Linked DNA regions of Homo sapiens: region 2 is linked to region 1. The links are contacts of gene promoters, found by promoter capture Hi-C in blood cells and fetal thymus (Javierre and others, 2016). All regions are on one chromosome and are shown on one strand. Each heading gives the region's core, a stretch centred on a gene start or on the middle of the fragment in contact. The rest is flanking DNA. Distances are from core to core; before and after follow the strand shown.

Region 1 (7,222 bases), core at 1,937-4,436:
TTATAACAGTTACATGTGCAACACTGCCTACGAAGGGACTCATTGTTACTAGGCATGAGGTACCAGGAAAGAAGTAGTGTTCATATGAGCCTTAAGAAATCAGTACAATGTCCTCGGGAGGACCAGAGGAAGGACACCCCAGGTGGAAGGAACAGCAGAAATAAAGGCACAGTGGCATGTGTGGGTGTGGGGTGTTGGAGTGTCATAGAATCTGATGAGGTTGGGATCCATGGGGGTAACAGGTGGGAAAACAGTTTACTCTGTTTAAGGTGAACTTATTGCCTGGTGTTTTGTGCTCAGAGCAAATACCCTCTTCAGGAGCAGATACAAAAAGCCGGCATCTTCTCCAGCAGCTCTTAGTAAAATACAAGCCCAGGCCCTTCAGACCCGGATTAGGCAAAGACTATGTCTGTTTTCCAAATACTTGTTAGTACACAAAAGGCACATGAACTTGTAGTTTGTCTGCATGGCAAACCTTTCTTCACTTTGCTCAGTTTTTATTTTTTTGAGACAAGTCTCATTCTGTCACCCAGGCTGGAATGCAGTGGCACAATACCAGCTCACTGCAGCCTCCACCTCCCAGGCTCAAGCCATCCTCCCACTTCGGCCTCCTGAATAGCTGGAACTACAGGTGCACATCATCATGCCTGGCTAATTTTTAAATTTTTTGTAGAGATGGGGTCTCACTCTATTGCTCAGGCTGGTCTTGAACTCCTGGGCTCAAGTGATTTGCCCACCTTGGCCTCCCAAAATGCTGGGATTACAGGAGTGAGCCACCACACCCGGCCTGCTCAGCTTTTAAATTCAACACTCTGCCTACTCTTTTCAAAACTAAAAGTACCATTACCTTAGCTGTAGAACCTAACTCTCTCGAAATGTACCAGAGAAAATCTAATTAATACTCTCATTTTCTGAATGTTCCCCCCTAAAAACAACAAAAACCCCACTAGGAGTGGAATTTGAGGCCTCCCCAACCACCTACCAAAAAAGGAGGGTGAAATGAAAGGAAGAAGAAAAACTCAGCATTCTTTCCTCTGACAAAGAGTAAAACGACAAGGAATATCGGCCTGAATTCTCTTCCCAAGAAGAAAGAAAGCACACCAACGCAGGCATTTGTCTTCTGTCCATGGTGCTGAAGTTTATTCACTTTCAAACCACTTTCAGTAACAGGTGAGGTTCTACCTTAAAATTTAATGCATGGGGTGGGAGAGGCGAGGAAGTCACCATCAAACCACTTTATCTACAGTTAGCATAAGATGTGAGAAGTGTTGACAGGAAGCTGCAGCTTAGATGGGATGATCACAACTCCATGGCAACAAGATGACACAAATGCAGCAGAGACCCCAGGGGACAGGAGCCTCTTGCAGTCTGTCCCTAGGCCCAGCCCTGCTTGTCCTCCCTGGCTGTTATCTTCAGTACTGCAAAGAGAACACAGACATATCTGGCTTGGTGACCTGGCTGTCCTGGAAAAGTCAGCTTCATGTATGAGTGTGCCCATCCTCTGAACTTGATTACTGACCACCTGCTTCCCACCGGCCCCCACCCCAGCCTGATGACCCTCTGAGCTTCATGAATTGATAAGCAAGTTACTCATCAGAGTAAATTTCACTTAAGCCCTTCAGGATCTTGCAATTCTGGGGAGGAATATGAACTGCTAATCAGCCATGCAAAGATAACTTGGCTCTATGAATATTTTAATTTCCCAGTGCTAGTGGCAGTTGCTTTTTTTTTTTTTTTTTTTGAGACGGAGTCTTGCTCTGTCGCCCAGGCTGGAGTGCAGTGGTGCCATCTCTGCTCACTGCAAGCTCCGCCTCCCGGGTTCACGCCATTCTCCTGCCTCAGCCTCCGGAGTAGCTAGGACTTACAGGCGCCTGCCACCACGCCTGGCTAATTTTTTGTATTTTTAGTAGAGACGGGGTTTCACCGTGTTAGCCAGGATGGTCTCCATCTCCTGACCTCGTGATCCACCCGCCTTGGCCTCCCAAAGCGCTGGGATTACAGGCGTGAGCCACCGTGCCTGGCCTTTTTTTTTTTTTTTTGAGACAGTCTCGCTCTATCACCTAGGCTGGACTGCAGTGGCGTGATCTCTGCTCACTGCAACCTCTGCCTCCTGGGTTCAAGTGATTCTCCTGCCTCAGCCTCCCAAGTAGCTGAGAGTACAGGTGCCCGCCACCACACCCAGCTAATTTTTGTATTTTTAGTAGAGCTGGGGTTTCACCATGTTGGCCAGGATAGTCTTGATCTCTTGACCTCATGATCCGCCTGCCTCGGCCTCCCAAAGTGCTGGGATTACAGGCGTGAGCCACTGTGCCCAGCCCCCCCCCCTTTTTTTTTTAAGCATTTTCTCAGCAGACTAGCTAAGGACAATAGATGGCATGTCCTGACACCCATGGGGCACTCTGGGTGTTGGGGCAGAAACTTGAGAGGGAATGAGCTTCTGCATTGGTCCCTTTCCTGCTGAAGGTGTCTCCCAGTAGTGTCCATCCCATCCCATTTCCATCCCCAGTTCCTCTTACCCGGAAGCTGTTACAGCCCAGTCCGCTCTGGGCTCCAATCCTGTCCATCCTGCCCCCGAAGCAGCTGGATCTCCGCAGGCTCCGAGGGGCAGTGAGCAGCGCCCTCAGCTTGCTTTTTAGGAGGGCAGATCGATCAGAGGAGTCCCAGGGGCCCCGCCCGAGGGCACCTCCATCTCTCTGGGCTGGGCTGACTTCCCCGGTCCAGGGAGGCACCTCAGGGAGGGGGCTGAGAGCAGCCCCCGCTTCTTCATTCGGCTCACTGAGCACTTGTGGGGGCACGACCTCATCTTCTAAAGGCATCTTTTCTTCCAAATGGTCCAGCAAATTCTTTAGAAAAGGAAAATACAGGGAAAGGGATAAACCTCACTGACTTGGAGGAAATCAAGAGGAGTGAGCACAGCATCAGAAAGCCCCCTGGCCCCAGACTGCACCCGCTTTCCTGGCCCTACCTTGAAATCCATCAGGTCTGCGTTGGACACGGCATTGTACATGGGATTAGCTCTGGTCTGACCTAGGAGCTGGAATGCCAGTAAAAGGAGGAAGCTCACGGTGGTGGTGGAGAAGGAGCTCATGCTGGCGTCGTCAAGGAGCAATCCACTGCTTGCTGCTCTGTCTCTCCCCTCTGGTTCCTCTCTGGTTCCCCTCTCTTGGCCTACGTCTGTCCCTGTCTCCCAGCTGCCCAGTGCCGCCTCTTTTTATAGCCCCCCAGCTCTCCAAGCACGCAGGAGAGACAGAACCCTCCCCATTCTGTCACTTGCAGTGATAAAGCTGCCAAGTGAGAAGCCAGCAGGAGATGCCCTTTTAAAGTTATCATCCCGCAGGGCTTGTCACAGCCCCTCTCTGCCTTGGGCAGCCCCAACAGCCCCCCAGACCCTCAGCTGCAAGAGCCGCATTCTTACTGATTTGACTCAAGAGGCTCCCACTTCAAAGGTGTGAGAAGAGTAAAAAAGAGTCCTTGGTTATCTCACCGCCGTGCCTCAGGATTCTTTCTCCTCGACGCTGGTACCCGTGCGGGGAAACAGAGGGTGACGCTTGGCTGGTGCCCAGCTCCCCTGGTTTGTTTGTGGCTCAGCTGTCAGGGCCTCCAAATAAGGGTGGAGAGGAGGAAATGGCAGGCAGCCAGCAGCCCGAGACAAATGGATCCAGATGCTCAAGCTGGCCTCACACCTGCCTCATCCGCCACGTGGGCAGACCTCTGGCCTCAGACAGGGCTGCCTTCACCCCTGGCAGTCCCTCTCCATGGTCAGGCGAAAGGAAGTTATTTTTTAGTATATAAAGTCAGCTGAGAACCAAATGTGATGAAGCTCCCAGGAATCCAACCCCCAAATAGAAATAGCAAGAAAAGGCGGGGGAGCACAAGCATCCTCTCTCCAAAGCTCCTCCTCTTCCATGTCCCCCGCGACCCTCCTCCAGCATGCTGCGGGGACAGGCTTAGAGGACGCAGCCAATTTCATTTCTTCCGTTGCTGTTTATAGATGCTCAGACTCTTCGTGTCTGAAGTTTGTTAACATCCCCCTGCCCTTCCTGGGCTTGTGCCCGTGGCAACTTGACCGATGGAGGAAGGGAGGTGGGGGTGAAGGAGGTATAGTCAGTTTCCCTCAATGCCTTCTACATCCTTCCCTGAGGACGTGGCAAGTGGCAAGTGACCGAGCCACCAAGGTCACAATTTCCCTGGCCCCCAAAAGGGAAATAACAGGCAGCAAGTCTGTCTATGTTTAATGAATGGCCTGTTTGCTAAGCACTGAACTCAGTGTTAGCCATTACCATTCAATGCAACGTATACTGGGGGAAAACTCTAAATTTGAAGGGCTGAGAGACCAGTACTGTAGCCCAAAACAAACCAGTTGCATACCTCTTCGCAGCCTTACTTTCCTTGTGTGTAAAATGAGAAAGAATGTTAAAAACCGGCCGGGTGCAGTGGCTCACACGTATAATCCCAGCACTTTGGGAGGCTAAGGTGGGTGGATCACCTGAGGCCAGGAGTTTGAGACCAGCCCTACCAACATGGCAAAACTCTGTCTCTACTAAAAATATAAAAATTAGCTGGGTGTGGTGGCATGTGCCTGTAATCCCCGCTACTAGGGAGGCTGAGGTAAAAGAATTGCTTGACCTTGGGAGGCGGAGGTTGTAGTGAACCAAGATCGCACCACTGCACTCTAGCCTGGGCAACAGAGTGGGACTCGGTCTCAAAAAATAAATAAATAAATGAATGAATAAAGTAGAAATCTTCCCTGCCTACCTTGCAGGATTGTTGTGGAGCCCAAGTGAGCTGAGAACGTGTCAACACATAACAAGTGTGCAGTGCTGAGTCCCTGCAAGATGGCCATCATAGTTGTCTTTATTGGTTGCTTGTAGCATGCCTAGCACTGTGCTGAGAACTTTATGGAAATGATTTTATTTTGATCACCATCCCCAGGTGGTAGATAGCATTGTCCTTGCTTACAAGGGAACAGAACTGAGCCCGAGAGGCTATGCCACTTGCCCAAGGCCACTAGGTGCCTAAGTGGCGGAACCAGGACTGGATCCCCAGGTCTGACGCTGATGTCTGTATCCTAGCCTATTTCACGTAGAGAGCTGCCACCTTACCTCTTAGCTGCATTCCCCAATTAAACCCCCATTCCCCATCTTTCAGATGCCCCAAGGGAGCTCCTTCACCTTCCCCATGCCCCTGGGGCTGTAGCTTTTTTGTGCACTTACCAAGTCTGTGTGTGTTGGCTGCTCTCCTGATCTATTTCTACACCGAATGTGTTTTAATCCACTCCTTAGAAGCTCAGAAAATGTGTGTTGAGTGACCAGCTCTGTCCTGGCTGGCCAGATCTGTCCCCAGGTGTGCTGACCTCATGACTGACCAGGTGAACAGGACGTTGTGCAGCCATAAGGTTGGAAATCAGGGCAGCAAGTGACTAGAGGTCACAAGAGGTATCCAGGGTGATATTATTCTAAGATAAGATAAAAGGGACCCTCTTTGGCAAGCCTTGGGGTTTGTCTGTAGGTGGGGATCTAATATTTCATGGGGTGGTTAGAAGCAGCCTGTAGGAGTGAGAGAGAAGAAAAGTAACAGGCACAGAAAGCCAGGCCCACCTCCATCCCCACCTCTTCCACGGCTGAAAAATCAAAAGCCTTTTATTTCCTTATCACTGGAAAGAAGTCATCTTAGTCATACAACGGGTGGAGCACTGCAAACGGGTGGGAGAATCCAGAATCCGGGTGTTGCCAGATTCCAGCCCAGAGTTTGGCTTCACGATTCTCTGGGGGTATGCCTTGGGCTGCTGCAGGGAGCCCCAGAGTGTGCAGTGTCACCCGCGTGCAGAGCTGGCACGAAATCCCCAACACATTCGTGGCATGATTCTGCGGGACCCAGATGGTCTAAAGCAGAAGCCCCAGTTGGGAAAAATTGGTTCATACTTAGGGATGATCGTTGCTGACTTTGAAAATGATGTTTTGTTTCTTTGGTTTAATATGGAGGTCACTAAGGGCTGAAGACTGGGGACAGTTTCCCTAGAAAACAAAGCCCAAGGCAAAAGGTCACTCGCTAAAGTTTTGTGGGGGTTCCTATTCAAAGGAAGCAAGAGTGAGGCGGAGTGAGAGGCTGTTTTAGTTAACTACTGCCGGGTAACAAGTCACCCCAGACTGGGCGTGGTGACTCACGCCTGTCATTCCAACACTTTGGGAGGATCATTTGAACCCAGGAGTTCAAGACCACCCTGGGCAACATGGCAAAAACCCATTTGTACTAAAAATACAAAAAATTAGCTGGGTGCAGTGGTGCGTGCCTGTCATCCCAGCTACCCTGGACACTGAGGTGGGAGAATCACCACAGCCCAAGAAGTTGAGGCTGCCGTGAGCCATGACCAAGCCACTGCACTCCAGCCTGGGTGACAGAGTGAGAACCTGTCTCAAAAAGAACAAAAGCCAGGCATGGTGGCTCACGCCTGTAATACTAGCCCTTTGGGAGGCTGAGGCAGGAAGATCTCTTGAGCTCAGGAGTTCCAGACAAGACTGAGCAACATAAGGAACCCTGTTTTTAATAAATAAACAAACAAAAAACAAAACAAAAACCAAGTCACCCCAAACCTTAGCAACTTCACACAATGCACATCTATTATCTCATCACCTCTGTGCTCTGTGGATCAGGGATCTGGCCCTGCTTGGCCTGGGGCCCCTGGGCAATGAAGGCGTTGGCTGCGGCTGCAGTCATCTCAAGGCTTGGCTGGGGGAGGATAGGCTTTCAGGCTCACTCCTGCAGCTGTTGGCAGAAGCCACAGGTTCTCGCTGGCTGGTGGCTGGTGGAAACATCAGTTTCTTGCCACGTGGGTCTCTCCATGGAGACGCAACTGTCTTCTATTAGGTCAGGCGAGAAAGAGAAGTTACGGAAGAAGCCACAGTCTCTTTGTTACCTAATCTCAGAAGTGACATCCCATTCTTCATGTTGTACTGTTCTGTGTCCCTTAGAAGTGAGTCTCTGGGTCTCACTCACACTCTAAGGGAGGGGGTTACAGAGGGTATGAAGACCAGGAGGTTGGGGATCTCTGGGGGCCTTCTGAAAGCACTGCCCACACAAATAGAGAAGGAAGGAAAGCAAATGTAAGGTGACATTGGCTGAGTGCAGTGGCTCATGCCTGTAATCCCAGCACTTTGGGAGGCTGAGGTGGGTGGATCACTTGAGGTCAGGAGCTCGAGACCAGCCTGACCAACATGGTGAAACC
Region 2 (7,222 bases), core at 3,425-5,924, 41 kb after region 1:
TAATATAAACCTGGGGGTTCAGGCTAGAGGGGTGAGGGGCGTGCAGTGGAGGTTTTTTTGTTTGTTTTTGCTTTTTTGTTGTTTGAGACGGAGTCTTGCTCTGTCACCCAGGCTGGAGTGCAGTGGCGCCATCTTGGCTCACTGCAAGCTCTGCCTCCTGGGTTCACACCACTCTCCTGCCTCAGCCTCCCGAGTAGCTGGGACTACAGGCGCCCACCACCACGCCCGGCTAATTTTTCGTATTTTTAGTAGAGACGGGGTTTCACCGTGTTAGCCAGGATGGTCTCGATCTCCTGACCTTGTGATCCACCTGCCTCAGCCTCCCAAAGCACTGGGATTACAGGCGTGAGCCACTGCGCCGGGCCCTTTATTTTATTTTATTTTTTTTGAGAAAAAGTAACTCAAGTTTACTTTTCTCAAAAAGTAGTAGAAATCATGCCAGGCATGGCGGCTCACACCTGTAATCCCAGCACTTTGGGAAACTGAGGCCAGAGGATCGCGTGAGGCCAGGAGTTTGAGACCAGCCTGAGCAACATAGTGAAACCCCATCTCTAATAAAAAGACAAAAAATTAGCCGGACATGGTGGTGTGCACTTGTGGTCCCAGCTATTAGGAGACTGAGGCATGAGAATCGCTTAAACCGGGAGGCAGATGTTGTAGTGAGCTGAGATCATGCCACTGCATTCCAGTCTGGGTGACAGAGTGAGACTCTGTCTCAAAAAAAAAAAAAACAAAAACAAAAAACAAAAAACAAGAAAAACACACCCATATATGTATATACATATGATTCTATATATCCTGTATATATAGAAGAGGACGCACAATTAAAGGTAACTCCCTCCCATCGAACTCCCAGTCCCTCAGCTCCCACCTACTCCCCTCCCAGGCATCGCTGATCAATTTCTTATGCCTCCTTCATGAATTTTCCTCTACAGCACAAGCACATGCAATTTTTTTGCATATTTGTACTACTTAAATTATTAAGTTATTTAATTACTAAATTGTCTTAGAGATAATTCCATATGAACATATTTAGACCTAATAGCATAACCATGTAACATAAATTCCAAACCAGGATGCGTTGGTATGACATGGGTTGTGTTAAAAAGCCCCCCAATGGATGGATGTAAACCAGAACTGCCCCAGACAAATGTGTCTTAGCAGGAGCTGGGAGAGAGCCAGCCAAGCAAAGCTGATGCAGCCCCATTCAACTCAACACAGCTTTTCTGGGTGTGTTTTATTTTTATTTTTAATTTTTAATTTTTTAATTTAAAAAAATAGAAACGGAGTCTTGCCATGCTGCCCAGGCTGATCTCAAACTCCTGGACTCAAGCGATCCTCCCGCCTCGGCCTCCCAAAGTGCTGGGATTACAGGCATGAGCCACCGCACCCGTCTGAGTGTTTAACAAGCCTAAGCATGTGACAGTGGGACCTGGGGTAGGGAGGGTCAGGCTCTGAGCCCCCACAGGCACTGAGCCATCTCTACTCATATCCAGGAGACAGTATGGGGGTTCTGAGGGGAACAACTATGCCAGTTTTTGGGGAAACATGTTCATCATTTTCCTGAGCACTTCCCTCTACCTTTGCTACGGAAACCCCAGCTCACCCTCCGAGCCTGATTCAAGGCCCATCTGCTTGTCGGCTTTGGTCTCGGAGAGGTGCCACGGAGTCAGGCTAAAGAGCAGGGCAGGACAGGGGACCTGCTGGGGCTGACCGCTGAGCCACGGACAGCCCTGTGGGTGAGACCGGTGGACATTGTCCCCAAGCCCCATTCCAGCAGTGCACCCTCCCATGGTGTCATCCTTCTGGCCTCCTTTGGTAGACCAAGTCTCCTTTGCCCAGGTAGCCTGTCTGTGACAGCCACCTCCCTGCATTTCTAGGCCCCCATTGTCCAAGAGTGACCAGGGCACTTCCCTCTTGGTTTCCACCTCAACGAGGGCAACGTGTATCTCTGAGCCCCGGCTTTGTGCCAAGCACTGGAGTTACAACAGCAGGCAGATTCCATGGAGCTGATGTTCTGATGGGGAGCACCAGCACACAGCAAAAACGGTCCTACAAGAACAGATGGCAATAAGCCTGAGCCTAATGTCCTGGCCTGGGCAGGCCTCTCTAGGGAAGGGACATTTCCATTGTCTCACATTACATTGAGTAAGTGGGACTCAGCTGGGCGAGGAGGAGAGGGTGTGAACTTGGTGTGTTGGAAAACAGGAGAGATGGTCACGGGTCTAGGGCTTGGAGTGAGAGCTGGGCAGGGCTGGAATTTGTGGGGCCTTCTGGACGGTGATAAATTCAGACCCCATCCCAGGGCCATGAGCAGTCGCTAAGGGAATTTAAACAGGAGTGTGGGGACAGGATCAAATTTGCCACCCTCCCTCTCCAGGGAAAACACCTTGGGCTAAGAGGAAAGGCAAATGATGAAGCCTTGGACTCCAGGCCGGGGCCCTGAGAGGAGGGAGAGGGGTCGCCTCCATCTCCGAGCAGCGGGACTAAGAGCCCTTTGGCGCCTCACCCCAGGAAGTCGGCTCTGTAAGGACTTCCCCAGCTTCCTCTGAGGCCAGAGGAGGAGACAAAGAAAGAAAGTCTTGGGCTGGGCACAGTGGCTCACACCTGTAATCCCAGTACTTTGGGAGGCCAAGGCAGGCAGATCACTTGGGGTCAGGAGTTCGAGACCAGTCTGGCCAACATGGCGAAACCCCATCTCTACTAAAAAATCCAAAAAATTAGTGGGGTGTGGTGGCGCATGCCTATAATACCAACTACTCAGGAGGCTGAGGCAGAGAATCGCTTGAACCTGGGAGATGGGGGTTACAGTGAGCTGAGATCGTGCCACTGCACTCCAGCCTGGGAGACACAGCAAGACTCTGCCTAAAAAAAAAGAAAAAAAGAAAGTCTTGAGCTTCTCTGTCCCTGGGGGACAGCAGCCTAGGCCCATCTGGGCTGGGGATACCAGGCCCTTTCCTGGTTCATATTTCCCCCCATCCCGCCCTCAGCCTCCGGGAACACCAGCCTCCAAGCTGGCTGCTGCTTCTGCATCCCACCCCATGACGCACATCCAGAATGGAGCCAAAAGCATAAGAAGCCAAAAGGACAGTCAAAAAAGGAAGGCAGCCTGGAAGGGCAGCAGCACCGGGAACATGAGGCTCTGTCCGCTCGCCCTTGCGCTGGCTCAGTGCAGACGGGAAGCGGTTGGAGCCAGTTCCAGCATTCTGCAGGTGGGGCTGGCGGGGGGAGAGGTGCCCATGCCCACCGGCCATTGGGCGGTCCCATGCGCCCTGCAGGCTGACCTCATTGTCCAGAATTGTGAGCGTGCTTCCTGGGGTCACATTCCGTGCTGAAGAGCCCCTCTTCAAGGCCTCGGTTGGCGCCAATGTCTTTTTAGGAACCAAGCCTCTAATTTTAGTGTCCCAGCCTTGACACCTTCTCAAAATAGCTCCCTGTTTTCTCTTGTGTCCCTGGCCCTTCCTTGGAGAAGGTGAACCCCCTGCATCCCCGTGATCTGAGTTGGTGAGCACAGGTCCAAGGCCTTGTATGGGTTTGGGTGTAGGGATCCACGCCCCTGCCATGTGTTTTGTGTGGCAGGACCCAGAGAACTCACCTCTGGGAGGGCAGCTCACAGCACCCACCATGGCAGGGGTCCTGCGAGAGCCCACTCCCAACTCCTCCCTGGGGGTCTGCCATGCTCAGGCGTGGCACAAACGAAAGTGACTCAAATCCAGGTCCCCAACCCCTGGAAATCAAGGCTTCATAGCCGCAGCTCCACCTGTAGGAATCGTGGGTGAGCTGACACCTGCGCCCCGGGAGCTCCTCTCTTCCTTTGGCAGGTTCCATGCTGTTCAGGTACCAATCCTAACAATGGCCTTTCCTGAACATTTCAATGGTGCCAAGTGCATCTCTTGCATAATTTTGTTTAATCCTCTCAGCCATCCTATGCAGTAGGTGCTATAATTGTCCCCAAGGTCATGGAGCTGCCAAGCGATGGAACCGGAATTTGGTGGGTTTTTTGTTTTTGTTTGTTTGTTTTTTGAGATGGGGTCTTGCTCTGTCACCCAGGATGCAGTACAGTGGCACGATCTCTGCTCACTGCAACCTCCGCCTCCCGGGTTCAAGAGATTGATTCTCCTGCCTCAGCCTCCCAAGTAGCTGGGATTACAGGCATGCACCAACACACCTGGCTAATTTTTATATTTTCAGTAGAGATGGAGTTTCACCGCGTTGGCCAGGTTGGTCTCAAACTCCTGACCTCAGGTGATCCATCCGCCTCGGCCTACCAAAGTACTGGGATTACAGGTGTGAGCCACCGTGCCCAGCCTAGAACTGGAAGTCGAACACAGGAAATCGGGCTCCCAGCCCTCGGCCTCATGCTACTCATGGTGCTGCCACATAAACATTCTCCTTGCACCAGCCCTTTCTCCACTGCCTCTGTCACAGTCCCTTCCAGAGTGCTCTGCTCAGATTCTTCTAGGCATCCTAAGCGAGTAGAGCAGAGAGGTTGTGCCGCTTGCCTGAAGTCACACAGCAAACTAGGGGCAGATGAAGACACACAACTCCAGAGGGCTGAGATCCAGGAAGCATTCCTGGAAGGAGGCTAAAGCTTAGCCAAGAGGTGAGCAAAGACTGTGGTCCCAGGCAACAGCCAGGCAGTGTGTCGGGACCTGGCAGGGCTCATCTAGCAGTCTTTTCCCCAACAGATTCGTGTTCTCAGCGGCAGGAAAAGCCCTCTAAAGGTGCCACCAGCTGGCCGAGTGGCAGGTATCCAGGAAGCTTGATTCGACAGCTCCCAGGGACACTGGCCACTAGGACCCATATTTTTCTGGGAAAGAGACACACTGGAAAGGAGAAAAGCCAGGGTGGGTCCTTCCTGGGCCTCCTCCTGCTGCAGTCAGAGCCCAAACCCCACACCCAGGGGCTCCCTGGAGGGACTGTGAGTGGCCAGAGCTCCCTTCAGGGCCCGAGGTCTGGCTCCTCCCTCAGGTTCATGCCCTGCAACCTGAGGGCCTGTCCCATTGATCACGATGGGGTGGGGAGGGGGAAGACAGAGACCGGCTGGTGCAGGTGATGGTGGGGAGACCAGGGCACTGGGCCCCATGGGGCTGGCTCACTCCACTCAGCCAGGGAAGAACACATTAGGGGCTTGGGAAACTCCTTCAAATCCCTAAATTGTCTAGGCTCATCCAAGCAGTTTTCGACTATCAGGACAGGAAAATGCAGTTTTTGTCTAAGTGAGTCACAGCCACTCTTCTGAAAGTGCCAGGTGGGTGGGTACACATGCAGGGCCAGAGGGCGCACCAAGAAGAAGAGAGGGGTCAAGACTCAGCCAGAAGCAGGTGCCCAGCCTTGGAATGACCGGAGACAGTCATCATAACACTGGGCTTCCCACTTAAATTATGCCGAGGGCCGGGCACAGCGGTTCACACCTGTAATCCCAGCACTTTGGGAGGCTGAAGTGGGCAGATCACTTGAGGTCAGGAGTCCAAGACCAGCCTGGCCAACATGGTGAAACCCTATCTCTACTAAAAAAAAAAAAAACGAAAATTAGCCGGGTATGGTGGCACACGACTGTAATCCCAGCTACACGGAAGGCTGAGGCATGAGAATCGCTTGAACCCAGGGGACGGAGGTTGCAATGAGCCGAGATCATGTCATTGCACTCCAGCCTGGGTGACAGAGCTAGACTCTGTCTCAAAGAAAAATAAATAAATAAAGAAAGAAAGAAAGAAAGAAAGAAAGCTGGGGTTGCCAACCCAAACACCTACAGGGGCCGGGTGGTTGGTGTAATGAAATAATGAATGAAGCCAGCCAGGTGACAAATTGTGGGGAAAAGAAAGAGAGATCATATTGTTAGTGTGTCTATGCAGAGACAGGAAGACATAAGAAACTCCATTTTGATCTGTACTAAGAAAAATTGTTCTGCTTTGAGATGCTGTTAATCTGTAACTCTTGTCCCAACCCTATGCTCACAAAAACATGTGCTGTATGGACTCAAGGTTTAAGGGATTTAGGGCTGTGCAGGATGTGTTTTGTTAGAAATGTTTTTGTAGGCAGTATGCTTAGTAAAAGTCATCGCCATTCTCCATTCTCGATTAACCAGAGATACAATGCACTGCGGAAGGCCGCAGGGACCCCTGCCCAAGAAAGCCCAGGTATTGTCCAGGATTCCCCCCACTGAGACAGCCTGAGATGTGGCCTCGTGGGAAGGGAAAGACCTTACAGCCCCCCAGCCTGACACCCACATAGGGTCTGCCTGAGGAGGATTAGTGAAAGAGGAAGGCCTCTGTGTTGTTGGGATAAGAGGAAGGCATCTGTCTCCTGCACGTCCCTGGGAATGGAATGGCTCAGTGTAAAACCGACCATACATGGCCGGGTGCCGTGGCTCACGCCTGTCATCCCAGCACTTTGGGAGGCTGAGGCGGGCAGATCACGAGGTCAGGAGATCGAGACCATCCTGGCTAACACGGTGAAACCCCGTCTCACACACCGGGCGTAGTGGCGGGTGCCTGTAGTCCCAGTTACTCGGGAAGCTGAGGCAGGAAAATGGTGTGAACCCAGGAGGCGGGGCTTGCAGTGAGCTGAGATTGCTCCACTGCACTCCAGCCTGGGCAACAGAGCGAGACTCTGTCTCAAAAAAAAAAAAAAAAAAAAAAACCGACCATATATTCTATTCTGAGATAGGAGAAAACTGCCATATGGCTGGAGGCGAGACATGATGGCAGCAATACTGCTCTGTTACTCTTTACTGCACTGAGATGTTTATGTAAAGTTAAACATAAATCTAGCCTATGTGCACATCCAGGCACAGCACCTTTCCTTAGACTTATTTATGACACAGATTCCTTTGCACACACATTTTCCTACTGACCCTCTCCCCACCATCACCCTATAGTCACACCACATTCCCCCTGCCAAGATGGTAAAGATAGTGATCAATAAATACTGAGGGAACTCAGAGACCGGGGCCGGTGCAGGTCCTCACTTACTGAGCACCGGTCCCCTGGGCCCACTTTTCTTCCTCTATACTTTGTCTCTGTGTCTTATTTCTTTTCTCAGTCTCTCGCCTCCACCTTGCGAGAAATACCCACAGGTGTGGAGGGGCTGGCCCCCTTCAACAAATAACACCTGACCCTTGGCCTAGGTGTTGAGGACATACTGGGCATTTGGGAGGCTATGGGAACTGGAGAAGGGAGCAGCTCAGTGCGCTTGAGTACTGCCTTGTGGGAATGCACCT

The links. The method cuts DNA at HindIII sites, captures the fragments that hold promoters and counts their contacts. A CHiCAGO score of 5 or more calls a contact.
Region 2: a fragment that was not itself captured here is called in contact with the fragment with the promoter of NPPA in region 1 in 3 of 17 cell types (erythroblasts, M0 macrophages and megakaryocytes); the score reaches 9.4 in erythroblasts.

What each region holds. Positions count from the first base shown.
Region 1 is chr1:11,844,597-11,851,818 of GRCh38, forward strand. NPPA (natriuretic peptide A) reads right to left here and starts at 3,187. Exons shown (of 3, transcript NM_006172.4): 1 at 2,966-3,187; 2 at 2,517-2,843; 3 at 1,113-1,418. The coding sequence starts at 3,088. The coding sequence ends at 1,413. It also overlaps NPPA-AS1. RefSeq lists an enhancer at 2,223-4,013. The HindIII fragment of the contact is 12,440 bases long and covers 1-7,222 here.
Region 2 is chr1:11,884,057-11,891,278 of GRCh38, forward strand. No RefSeq gene overlaps it. Among named protein-coding and RNA genes, the nearest start is that of RNU5E-1, 20 kb to the right of the region's middle. RefSeq lists an enhancer at 1,415-5,377. The HindIII fragment of the contact is 170 bases long and covers 4,590-4,759 here.